Linked DNA regions of Homo sapiens: regions 2 and 3 are each linked to region 1. The links are contacts of gene promoters, found by promoter capture Hi-C in human tissues and cell types (Jung and others, 2019). All regions are on one chromosome and are shown on one strand. Each heading gives the region's core, a stretch centred on a gene start or on the middle of the fragment in contact. The rest is flanking DNA. Distances are from core to core; before and after follow the strand shown. Region 1 overlaps MPHOSPH9 (M-phase phosphoprotein 9). Region 2 holds the start of EIF2B1 (eukaryotic translation initiation factor 2B subunit alpha). Region 3 holds the start of CCDC62 (coiled-coil domain containing 62).

Region 1 (3,719 bases), core at 311-2,810:
TACTAAAAAATACAAAAAAAATTAGCCGGGCGCGGTGGCTGGCGCCTGTAGTCCCAGCTACTCCGGAGGCTGAGGCAGGAGAATGGTGTGAACCCGGGAGGCGGAGCTTGCAGTGAGTCGAGATTGCGCCACTGCACTCCAGCCTGGGAGACAGAGCAAGACTCCGTCTCAGAAAAAAAAAAAAAAGTTAGATCTTGCCCTAAGTCCATTGGGAAGCCTTTGAAGGTTTTTATGTGGTAAAATGATGTTATCTAATTTTTATTAATGTACCTGCCATGAGAAGATGGAGAAGGAAAGAATGGAAGCAGGAGACTAGTTAGTCTGGTGCAGTGCTAGGAGAGAGGTGGTGTTAGCTAGGTGGTGGTCACAGAAATAGACAATAGAGACTCTTCGGGAGAGATTCTAGAGGTAGGATCTATAGGATATGGTTGTGAATTGGATGGCAAGGTAAGAAAGGGAGGTGTTGGAATAATTCCTTGGTTTCTCTCTCAAACAACTAAAGGTACCTAGTTCATGTGTTGAACTTAGGGAAGAGATCAGAATTTCCATCTTGAATATTTTTGTTTGAGATTCATATCGATTCTAAGTGGAAATCAAATAGGCAATTATAAATGAGTTTGGAGCTCAAAAATAAGGTTTTAGGATGGTATGATAAATTTTGGAGTCATGCCGGGTGCGGTGGCTCACGCCTGTAATCCCAGCACTTTGGGAGGCCGAGATGGGCGGATCACGAGGTCAGGAGATCGAGACCATCCTGGCTAACATGGTGAAACCCCATCTCTACTAAAAATACAAAAAATTAGCCGGGTGTGGTGGCGGGCGCCTGTAGTCCCAGCTACTCAGGAGACTGAGGCAGGAGAATGGCGTGAACCCGGGAGGCGGAGCTTGCAGGGAGCCAAGATCGCGCCACTGCATTCCAGCCTGGGCAACTGAGCAAGACTCCGTCTCAAAAAAAAAAAAAAATTGGAGTCGTCTCTTTCTAGATGGTGCGTAAAGTTGTAGAATGGATGTAAACTGAGTGTGTTTAGTGAGAAGTAGGCCTGGGGCAAGAACTCTGACACTGGTGTTGGATAGAGAGAGCTGGCAAAGGAACCCGAGAAAGCGCTGCCAAAAAGCTAGAGGAAAACAAGCAGCCACCGGTATTGAGTGCAAAACCCAACTTGTGTTTCCCTGTGCTCTCACACCAGCACAACAAAAATAGACTCAGAAGACTTTTGTGACCCAGAATGTGTGACATTTCTCCTCACCAGCAAGCGAGCAATCAGTTCTTCATGGGACCTAGCTGGGTGGCCTCCCATTCATCTCTGATACTATCTACCCAGAGATAGGGTCAGATCCCATAAGCTGAGGGCTCAGTCCCCAAGACTTCCCATTTCAGACACCATTTGCAAGTCCAGGCCTCCAAAACGTCTAACCAACTGGCTTCAAGTTGAGGTTCCCACAGCCCTCTCTTTGGGTTTGATTAATTTGCCAGAGTGGCTTATAGAACTCAGAGAATCATGTTTACCAACTTATTACAGATGATATTTTAAAGGATACAAATAAACAACCAGTTGAAGAGATACAGAGTAAGGTCTGGAAGGATCTCCAGCACAGGAGTTTCTTTCCCAGTAGAGCTGGGGTGTGATGCCCCCTCAGTGCGTGGATGAGCTCTTGTTCAGCTCTCCAGAAGCTCTGGAGCCCTGTCCTTTTGGGCATTTTATGGAGGTTTCATTGGACAGGCCTGATTGAAGCTTGGACGACTGTGTTGAAATGTGATTGGACAGAAAGGATGTGATCTAAACCCAGCAAGGCCTTTCTGTTCAGATCCTTCTTGGCCTCTTTGTGCAGCATTCCTTCCCCCAGAGGATGAGGCAGGACCCTCTCTGATTCGAACAAGAGTCTTATGACCCATAATCAGATTAGAGTCCTACCCTGGTAAGGTAAAAGGAAGACAGGAGAAGGTTAGAGATTCTGTTGACTGCAACAAGGGATATGAAAGTTATGAGCCAGGAATTGTGAATGAAAACTGATGTATAATATATGTCATAATCTCACATTGCTGCTTGAGAGATCAAGGTGAAGACTGCAAGGTCTTTGCAAGCTGGAGGCTAATGCTTAGTGAACAGTCTGGATAGAGTGATAACAGTAGAAGCCCATTCAGAGGGTACTCGAGTGAATGCAGGCTGGGCGTGGTGGCTCACGCCTTTAATCCCAGCACTTTGGGAGGCCAAGGCAGGTGGATCACTTGAGGTCAGGAGTTTGAGACCAGCCTGGCCAACATGGCGAAACTCCATCTCTACTAAAAATACAAAAATAAGCCAGGCATAGTGGTGCAGGCCTGTAATCCCAGCTACTCGGGAGGCTGAGGAATCACTTCAACCTGGGAGGCGGAGGTTGCAGTGAGCCAAGATCGCACCACTGCACTCCAGCCTGGGTGACAGAGCACCGCTCTGTCTCAAAAAAAAAAAAAAAAAAAAAAAAAAAAGTGAATGAAAACCTGAAAGTCTAACAGCTGGAATATGGAAAATACTGTCATACACTCAAGCATGACACTGCATCATGACAATGCAGGTGGCAGAGACCGAGTTGGCAGACCCCAGCCTGTGGGGCCACATGTGGCATGAACTACCTGTTTTTGTGAGGCCCCTGAGTAAAGAATGGTTTCTACATTCTTACATGTTTGGGAAAAAAGAATATTTCATGACACATGAAAATTGTATGACGGACTGGGCGTGGTGGCCCACACCTGTAATCCCAGCACTTTGGGAGGCCAAGGCAGGTGGATCACCTGAGGTCAGGAGTTCGAGACCAGCCTGGCCAACATGGCAAAACCCCATCTCTATTAAAAATACAAAAATTAGCTGGGTATGGTGGCATGTGCCTGTAGTCCCAGTTACTCAGGAGGCTGAGGCAGGAGAATCGCTTGAACCTGGAAGGCGGAGGTTCCAGTGAGCCAAGATTACACCACTGCATTCCAGCCTGGGTGAGAAAGTGAGACTCTGTCTCAAAAAAAAAAAAAGAAAGAAAATTGTATAACATTCAAATTTTAGTGTCCACAAATACAATTTTCATGGAATACAAGCTTATTCACTTACATAGCATCTACGGCAGCTTTTGTGCAACAGCAAAGTGGAGTAGTTGCAACAGACACTGGCCCATAAAACCTCAAGTGTTTACTCTCTGGCCCTTTACAGAGAGAATTTGCTGATCCTCAGCTAGACGGTCAACGTGGATTAATCTTAAGGACATAATATGGAACAACAAAAAACTAGTTGCAGAAGAAATAGGATACTATTTATATTGACTTTAGCATGTGAAGCAATTTTGTATTTCTTATGGGTTCATGCAAACATAGTAAACGTATGAAAACGTGCATGGGAATGCTGAACACAAATTTAGTATAAATGGTTGCTTTTGGGAGGGAACGAATGAGATTGGAGAGGTGCACAGGGGCTTTAGTTGTCTTTATAGTGTTCTACTCTTAATTTAAAGAATATATAACCAAGATTTATAAAGCTGGATGGTTGGCATGAATATTACCTGTATGTCTATGTGTGCTTGAGATATATATATAATATATGTTTTTTGTTTGTTTGTTTGTTTGTTTTGAGATGGAGTCTCGCTGTGTCACCCAGGCTGGAGTGCAGTGGCACAATCTCGGCTCACTGTAACCTCTGCTTCCCATGTTCAAGCGATTCTCCTGCCTCAGCTTCCCAAGTAGCTGGGATTACAGGTGC
Region 2 (3,719 bases), core at 833-3,332, 460 kb before region 1:
TCTTAAAAAATGATGGAATTTGCTAATCCTAGGATAAAATAATGTGTGTAAATCAGAACTGGTGTAGTGGCTCACGCCTGTAATCCCAACACTTTGGGAGGTCGAGGCAGGAAGATTGCTTCAGCCCAGGAGTTTGAGACCAGCCTGGGCAAAACAGTGAGACCTTATCTCTACCTTTTTTTTTTTTTTTTTTTTGCGACGGAGACTTGCTCTGTCGCCCAAGCTGGAGTGCAGTGGCACGATCTTGGCTCACTGCAACCTCTGCCTCCTGGGTTCAAGCAATTTTCCTGCCTCAGCCTCCTGAGTAGCTGGGATTATAGGTGTGCGCCACCTTGTCCGGTTAATTTTTTTGTATTTTGAGCAGAGACGGGGTTTCACCATGTTGGCCAGGCTGGTCTCGAACTCCCGACCTCAAGTGATCCACCCACCTTGGCCTTCCAAAATGCTGGGATTACAGGCGTGAGCCACTGTGCCCAGCCACTTTTTTTCTTTTTTAATAGAAAAACAAAACAAAAAAATGTGTAAATCACACAACAAAGCACCTAGGACAGAAGCACTTAATACAACTGTGTCTGCCAGACAGAAAAAGCGTTGCCTGTAAAGAAAGGTGTGCATCTATACACATGCAATGACCCTGTGAATTTCCTTCTTTAGTTCGCTACCTCATTTGTAGACAGGAGCAATGCCAGGCCTGCCTCCCTCACAGGGTTGTGGTATGGTTTCACATCAATTAAGAGAGGATGGACAATTATTACAGTTCCTGAAAGGACTCCCCTATCTCTATTCTTGCTCCCCACAGTCCATTTTCCACACAACAGCCACAGTGATCTTTTAAAATTGCAAACCAGATCATAACACTTTCTGGCTTAAAACTCTACAATGTCTTTGTATTGCACCTAAAAATAAAGGCCAACTTCTCTATCACGGCCAATAAGGCCCTGCATGACCTGAAACTGGCTGGTTCTCTGATCTCATCCCTCTAGCCTCCTTTTAAATCTTCAAGACATCTGACTCTGTATGTGGTAGTTTAATGTATGAATGAGTCTCCCCACCATCCTCTACCCGCAAGCTCTCCATTTCTCCCTTCTCAGTGTAACTTGGTGGCTCAATCTGCCACAGGGCCCATGCACTTAAAGTGCACTTCCCCCAGAACTTCACATAATCATTCAAGTCGGTTTCAATATCCTGCACTTTTCCTAGGCCCCTATCTAAAACAGCTCCTCCTCAATCCTAGTCACAATGTACTATTGTAACTAGGACCGTACTGTTACATCATCTTCATAGCTCTTTTCATCCTTTGAAAAATAATTTATTTTTTAATTTTTTATTGACGAGGTCATGCCCTGTCGGCCATGCTGGGTGCAGTACTGCCATAATAGCTCACTGAAGCCTCGAATTCCTGGGCTCAAGTGATTCTCCCGCCTCAGCCTCCCGCGTAGCTGGGACCACAGACACGCGCTACCACGCCCGGCTAATATTTCATTTTTTTTGTAGAGATGGGGTCTGGCTGTGTTGCCCAGGCAGGTCTCGAACTCCCGGCTTCAAGCGATTCTCCCTCCTCGGCCTCCCAAAGTGCTGGGATTACAGGCCTAATCCACCGGGGTGCGACCCGGCCGAAATTATTTTTATTTATTGTCATCTGTTTCACCCAGTAGACTGTAACCTCCACTAAGGCCCCTGTCTGTCACGATCTCTGCTAAAATCCAGAAAATAATGCCTGTACACAGGAGGCGATCCAAAACTATTTACTGAATGAATGACTGAATGCCTTGGCTACTCCTCTAAAGACCAAACGGATTCTATCCAGCCCAAAAGACACATTCCATCTGGCCAGTCGTAGCCGGACCGAGACAGCCGAGCCCCGGAGTCGAAGTCCCGCCCTGCAGGGTCCTCACCGTCTGAAACCATGGCTGTCCCAGCACCTCAGCGCAGAGCAAGTGGTGGTCAGGGGAGCGTCTCAAATCCTGCGCAGCCCAACGTCCGGCGCCGCCAAGTGACGCACGAGGTGCTGTGACTCGTGCCAGCCCCCTAATCTGCGGAAGTGGAGTGCGGGGAGTGCGCCGGAAGAGGGGTACGGAAGTGCGCCGGAAGTGGGGTGCGGAGGTGTGCAGCGCGCTGTCAGACTGGCTCGCAGGCGGCGCGGCCGGCGGACCCGTTCGAGACAGCGCGGGCGGCTCGGGTCCCCTGGGGCTCCGCAGCAGGAGGACGCCATGGACGACAAGGGTAAATCAAGACAGGCCAGGGCTGCTAGGCTACAGCAGCGCCGTTCAGGGGTCCCCCCAACCTCTCACATCCAGGCTGAGCTCCCGAAGAGATTTCTTTTGAATTTCAGGCTGCTCCGCTGGTTGTGTTTCCAGAGTCACAACTAAATCCCTCGCGCTGCTCTTGTTTTCAGGGATGCGCCCTGGCAGTATCTGCAGGCATCCCTCCCACACATACGCTCCTTCCCAGTGCCAGTCTCCTTCCTGCCTTGTTGGATCTGTCATTAAAATTAGAATGAATAAGGCATATTTGATGTGCTCATCTAGTATGGTTATTAAGTGAAAAACAAGGGCAAACTAATACACTTTTCATGTAAAGAAATAAAGGGGAGTGGGTGGAACTCCATGTATAATATTTGTAACATATATGTGTATGTGAATAGACATGTATTAGCATAGACTGTCTGGAGGGGTGCAGGAGAAATTGGCAAGATGGTTGACTCTGGGATCCTCTCAGATTTTAGGACCAAAGAGGCTGAAGAGAGAATGACTTTTCATCATCATTTACTCGGGCTTAATTTTTAGGCCTTGCACACCAGTAGCTTTTTTTTTTTTTTTTTTGAGACGGAGTCTCGCTCTGTCACCCAGGCTGGAGTGCAGTGGCGCAGTCTCGGCTCACTGCAAGCTCCGCCTCCCGGGTTCACGCCATTCTCCTGCCTCAGCCTCCCAAGTAGCTGGGACTACAGGCGCCCGCCACTACGCCCGGCTAATTTTTTGTATTTTTAGTAGAGACGGGGTTTCACCGTTTTAGCCGGGATGGTCTCGATCTCCTGACCTCGTGATCCGCCCGCCTCGGACTCCCAAAGTGCTGGGATTACAGGCGTGAGCCACCGCGCCCGGCCACCAGTAGCTTTTTCAAAATAAAAAAGAGCTCTTGCAAACAGCAAAGTGGTATTTTCTCTATTCCCATCAACATTTATTGCATCCCTGAAACCAAATACCCTAAAAAGAAAGTATTTTTTAAATTGTTTGCTTCTTAAAGTCAACAGTCATTAACAAGCTCTCTTGCCTTATAGGCTGCTAAATGAATTAGGTGAATCACTTTTTTCCCTTTTTCCAGAGTTAATTGAATACTTTAAGTCTCAGATGAAAGAAGATCCTGACATGGCCTCAGCAGTGGCTGCCATCCGGACGTTGCTGGAGTTCTTGAAGAGAGATAAAGGTATATAGAGAGTCATCTGTTAACACTCTGGGACTTAGGATAGTCTTTTTTTTCTTTTCTTTTTTTTTTTTTTTAAAGAGACGGAGCCTCACTCTGTCACCCAGGCTGGAGTGCAGTGGCGAGATCTTGGCTCACTGCAACCTCCGCCTCCTGGGTTCAAGCAATTCTCCTGCCTTGGCCTCCTGAGTAGCTGGGATTATAGGTGTGCACCACCTTGTCCGGCTAATTTTTTTGTATTTTAGAGACAGGGTTTCACCATGTTACCCAGGCTGGTCTCGAACTCCTGAGCTTAGGCA
Region 3 (3,719 bases), core at 679-3,178, 400 kb after region 1:
CGGCTGCTTCAATGTCCTTTTCTTTTCATTATTGGTTAAAAAATACCATTTCACCCTTACATACTTCAGAATGCATCTCTAAAAATGAACATTTCCTATATAACCATGATGCCATTTTTATATCTAACAATATTATCTATTAATACAATAATTTCTTTGAAGTATACAGCATTTTAAAATCTAACAAGTTGGCCTGACCAAATTGTGATCCCAGAATTAGCCACTTAGTGGCTACATAACCTTGGGCAAGTTACTTAACTTCTCTAAGCATTAGTTTCCTCACCTGTAAAACGATAGCAACTGCATTTTAACATCTTGGAGTGGTGAAGATTAAACAAGACAAACTCTGTAAAGTACTGAGCACAAAGCCTGGCCCGTTGTAATCACTCAACAAACATCAGCTCTCATTAACACTGTAAACCACATTTCAAATCATGGTGCTGTCCCTGCCTATGAAATAAACAACTAAAAGTGTTACTTTAATAGAGTTCCACCTTAAAGACAGTAATTAAAGGTTCAACAGAGGCCCTTTGTACCTCCTTACTGCTTTTTGAAAAGTAAGATTTGTAAATAAACAAGAATAATGAGGTTGGGCTCAGTGGCTCACGCCTGTAATCCCAGCACTTTGGAAGGCCGAGGTGGGCAGATCACCTGAGGTCGGGAGTTCGAGACCAGCCTGGCCAACATGGCGAAACCCTGTCTCTACTAAAAACACAAAAATTAGCTCGGCATGGTGGTGGGAGCCTGTAGTCCCAGCTATTTGGGAGGCTGAGGCGGGAGGATTGCTTGAACTCGGGAAGCAGAGGCTGCAGTAAGCCGACATTGCGTCACTGTACTCCAGCCCTGGGGACAGAGCCAGACCCTGTCTCAAAAATAAATAAATAAGAATGATGAATAAATTACAGTTGCTAGTCTTAACAAGGAAAATGGAATTTGGAGTCAAGGGATTTCAAGTCCCAAGGCTTGAATTCCAGTGTTGGGTTAGCCCTTCATTCATGCACTCAACAAATAATTTATTGAGCGCCAGTGGCTGGGCCACAGACCTCCAGGCAAGGAGCACATATTCCACTCCAGGAAAACAGGCAGTAAGCCGAGTACACAAAGGCAGGTCGTCTTACACTGATGGACGCGAACCTTGGGCAAGCCCACTTCCAGACTTTTTGGTACAGTGGAGTTGTGAGAGCTCCTTCCTCTACTCGCCAGGTTGTGTAAATTAAGGACACCCTGAGAGGTAAATGGGAAAGCAGCTCCCCAGACGCCAATCGTCCTCCTTAAACAGTAAGCACCGGGTACGCGCTACTCTGTGGCCCGGGCTGAATAACAAGGTGTTATTGGGTTAAGGAAACGGTCGTGACGCCGTTTTCCTCTAGTGTATTGTTTCACTTTTTTTTTTTTTTTTTTTTTTTGAGACGGAGTCTCGCTCTGTCGCCCAGGCTGGAGTGCAGTGGCGCGATCTCGGCTCACTGCAAGCTCTGCCTCCCGGGTTCACGCCATTCTCCTGCCTCAGCCTCCCGAGTAGCTGGGATTACAGGCGCCCGCCGCCACGCCCGGCTAATTTTTTTTTTTTTATTTTTAGTAGAGACGGGGTTTCACTGTGTTAGCCAGGATGGTCTCGATCTCCTGACCTCGTGATCCGCCCGCCTCCGCCTCCCAAAGCGCTGGGATTACAGGCGTGAGCCACCGCGCCCGGCCTGTTTCACATTTTAAGTAGACACCGTTCTTGAGAAGCAATAGATTTCGACCAATGTGCACCGTTCCCGCGGCGCCCCGCCGCGCCCGGAACCGCTGCTTACCTGGCGCCCGGCAAGGAAGGCTGCCGGAGGGTTCATAGGTGTTTCCTCCGCCCCCGGAGAAGCCCGGTGTGGGCGGCGTCACCTCAGAAACGCCATCGGCGCGCCTGCCCCGAGCGGCGGGGGCGAGCCCGGAGCCCCGGGGCCCCGCGCCCTCGGCCGACCCCCGCCCCGTACTCCAACCGCCTGCCTGGTGCCCACGCGGCGTGCGCCCGCCGGGGCTCGGGGCTCCCCGCCAGGGTTTCCGGGCCGCAGCCCCGCTGCGCTGGTGGGCACTGTTCTTCTGCCTCGGAAACTGGGGGCTCCCAAGTGGCTCAGGCTGCGTATGGACGCTTTTTGCCCACGCCCGAGGCTCCGGCGCTGGAAGGCCTGAAAGAACCGGCTGTTCACCACTACCCAGAGAATGAAGAAGTCAATAAAGGCTGCTGCGCCGCCCCCAGCACTCTGGTTTATGACATTTGAGTTGCTCACTTCCCTATCTTCCATCTTCCCCCTAATAACCGTGAGCTCGGCCGTGCTCGCTCCTGTGTAGCTGGCTCCCAGAACAGGACCTGACACTCGAATGCGTGGAGGCAGAGCCCAGCCCTCGGGGATAACAGTTGCGGGCTACCCTAGCACCTTTGATACTTTAAACCAAGAATCACAGATGAAGAGGGGGAAATTTACTCTTGGGAGCTCCTGAAAAGCAATGAGGAGAACCACGGTACTTTGTCATGACAAAATCTACGATATTCTGGGTTGAATCTAAGCTTTTTCACCTGTTCTTCCATAGTCACCTCTTCATCCCCCTTTCACTCTTCCTAAGATGTGGGAACGGGACTAGGAAAAAATAAGGCTTATCACACTTCAGCCCCGGCTGCCCATCCCTGAATGCTTAACCCATCAGACAGCAACACAATTACTAAATACGGTCGGTCTTACAGGGTTTCAACTTTACTTTTTGGTTGAATATGAAATGCCAAAACATGCCCTTGTGTTCAAAAAATACAATCTGAAAATGGAAAAACAAAATTAAGATTTCTTATTTTGAAGCTTTACTGATAGGCTCATGTTTGGGAGACCAAAGCAATGTCTTAGAATTTAAAATCAAGAAAGCTGGGCGCAGTGGCCTGTAACCCCAGCACTTTGGGAGGCCAATGTAGGAGGATCTGTTGCGTTCAGGAGTTTGAGACCAGCCTGAGCAACATGGTGACACCCACCTCTAAAAAACTTTTTTTTTTTTTTTTTTTGAGATGGAGTCTGGCTCTTGTTGCCTGAGCTGGAGTGCAATGGCACAATCTCGGCTCACTGCAAACTCTGCCTCTGGCCTCAAGCAAATCTCCTGCCTCAGCCTCCCGAGTAGCTGGGATTACAGGTGCCCGCCACCACGCCACCTTTGTTGTATTTTTAGTAGAGATGGGTTTCACTACCTTGGCCAGGCTGGTCGCGAACTCCTGACCTCAGTTGACCCACCCACTTCAGCCTCCCAAAGTGCTGGGATTACAGGTGTGAGCTACCGCACCTGGCCAAAAAATAAATTTTTTTTTAAACTGGGCGTGGTGGTGCACTCCTGTGGTCTCAGCTACTCACGAGGCTGACTTGAGCTGGGAGATGGCGGCTCCAATGAGCTGTGATCATGCCACTGCATTCCAGTCCGATCGAGAGTGAGACCTTGACTCAAAAAAACAAAAATCAGGCCAGACGTGGTGGCTCACGCCTGTAATCCCAGCACTTTGAGAGGCCGAGGAGGATGGATCATGAGATTAGAAGTTTGAGACCAGCCTAGCCAATACAACGAAACCCTGTCTCTACTAAAAATCAAACAAACAAACAAACAAACAAAAACTAGCCACGTGTGGTGGTGCGCACCCATAGTCCCAGCTACTCGGAAGGCTGAGGCAGGAGAATCGCTTGAATGCAGGAGATGGAGGTTACAGTGAGCCAAGACTG

What was found. Contacts are between HindIII fragments. The study calls those that stand out against the background at their distance.
Region 2: the fragment with the promoter of EIF2B1 here is called in contact with a fragment that was not itself captured in region 1 in 1 of the 25 tissues and cell types used here (spleen).
Region 3: a contact is called between the fragment with the promoter of CCDC62 here and a fragment that was not itself captured in region 1, in 1 of the 25 tissues and cell types used here (spleen).

Annotation. Positions count from the first base shown.
Region 1 is chr12:123,171,620-123,175,338 of GRCh38, reverse strand. The region is part of intron 16 of MPHOSPH9 (M-phase phosphoprotein 9); the gene reads left to right. Among named protein-coding and RNA genes, the nearest start is that of PITPNM2, 22 kb to the right of the region's middle. RefSeq lists a silencer at 1,970-2,170. The HindIII fragment of the contact is 6,614 bases long and covers 1-3,719 here.
Region 2 is chr12:123,632,049-123,635,767 of GRCh38, reverse strand. EIF2B1 (eukaryotic translation initiation factor 2B subunit alpha) reads left to right here and starts at 2,082. Exons shown (of 9, transcript NM_001414.4): 1 at 2,082-2,223; 2 at 3,322-3,423. The coding sequence starts at 2,211. GTF2H3 (general transcription factor IIH subunit 3) reads right to left here and starts at 1,939. Exons shown (of 13, transcript NM_001516.5): 1 at 1,896-1,939. The coding sequence starts at 1,908. RefSeq lists an enhancer at 1,866-2,055. The HindIII fragment of the contact is 12,225 bases long and covers 1-3,719 here.
Region 3 is chr12:122,772,781-122,776,499 of GRCh38, reverse strand. It overlaps CCDC62 (coiled-coil domain containing 62), which reads right to left and starts at 1,928. Exons shown (of 13, transcript NM_201435.5): 1 at 1,794-1,928. The coding sequence starts at 1,829. RefSeq lists silencers at 1,064-1,358, 1,881-2,090 and enhancers at 1,561-1,700, 1,088-1,781. The HindIII fragment of the contact is 10,219 bases long and covers 1-3,719 here.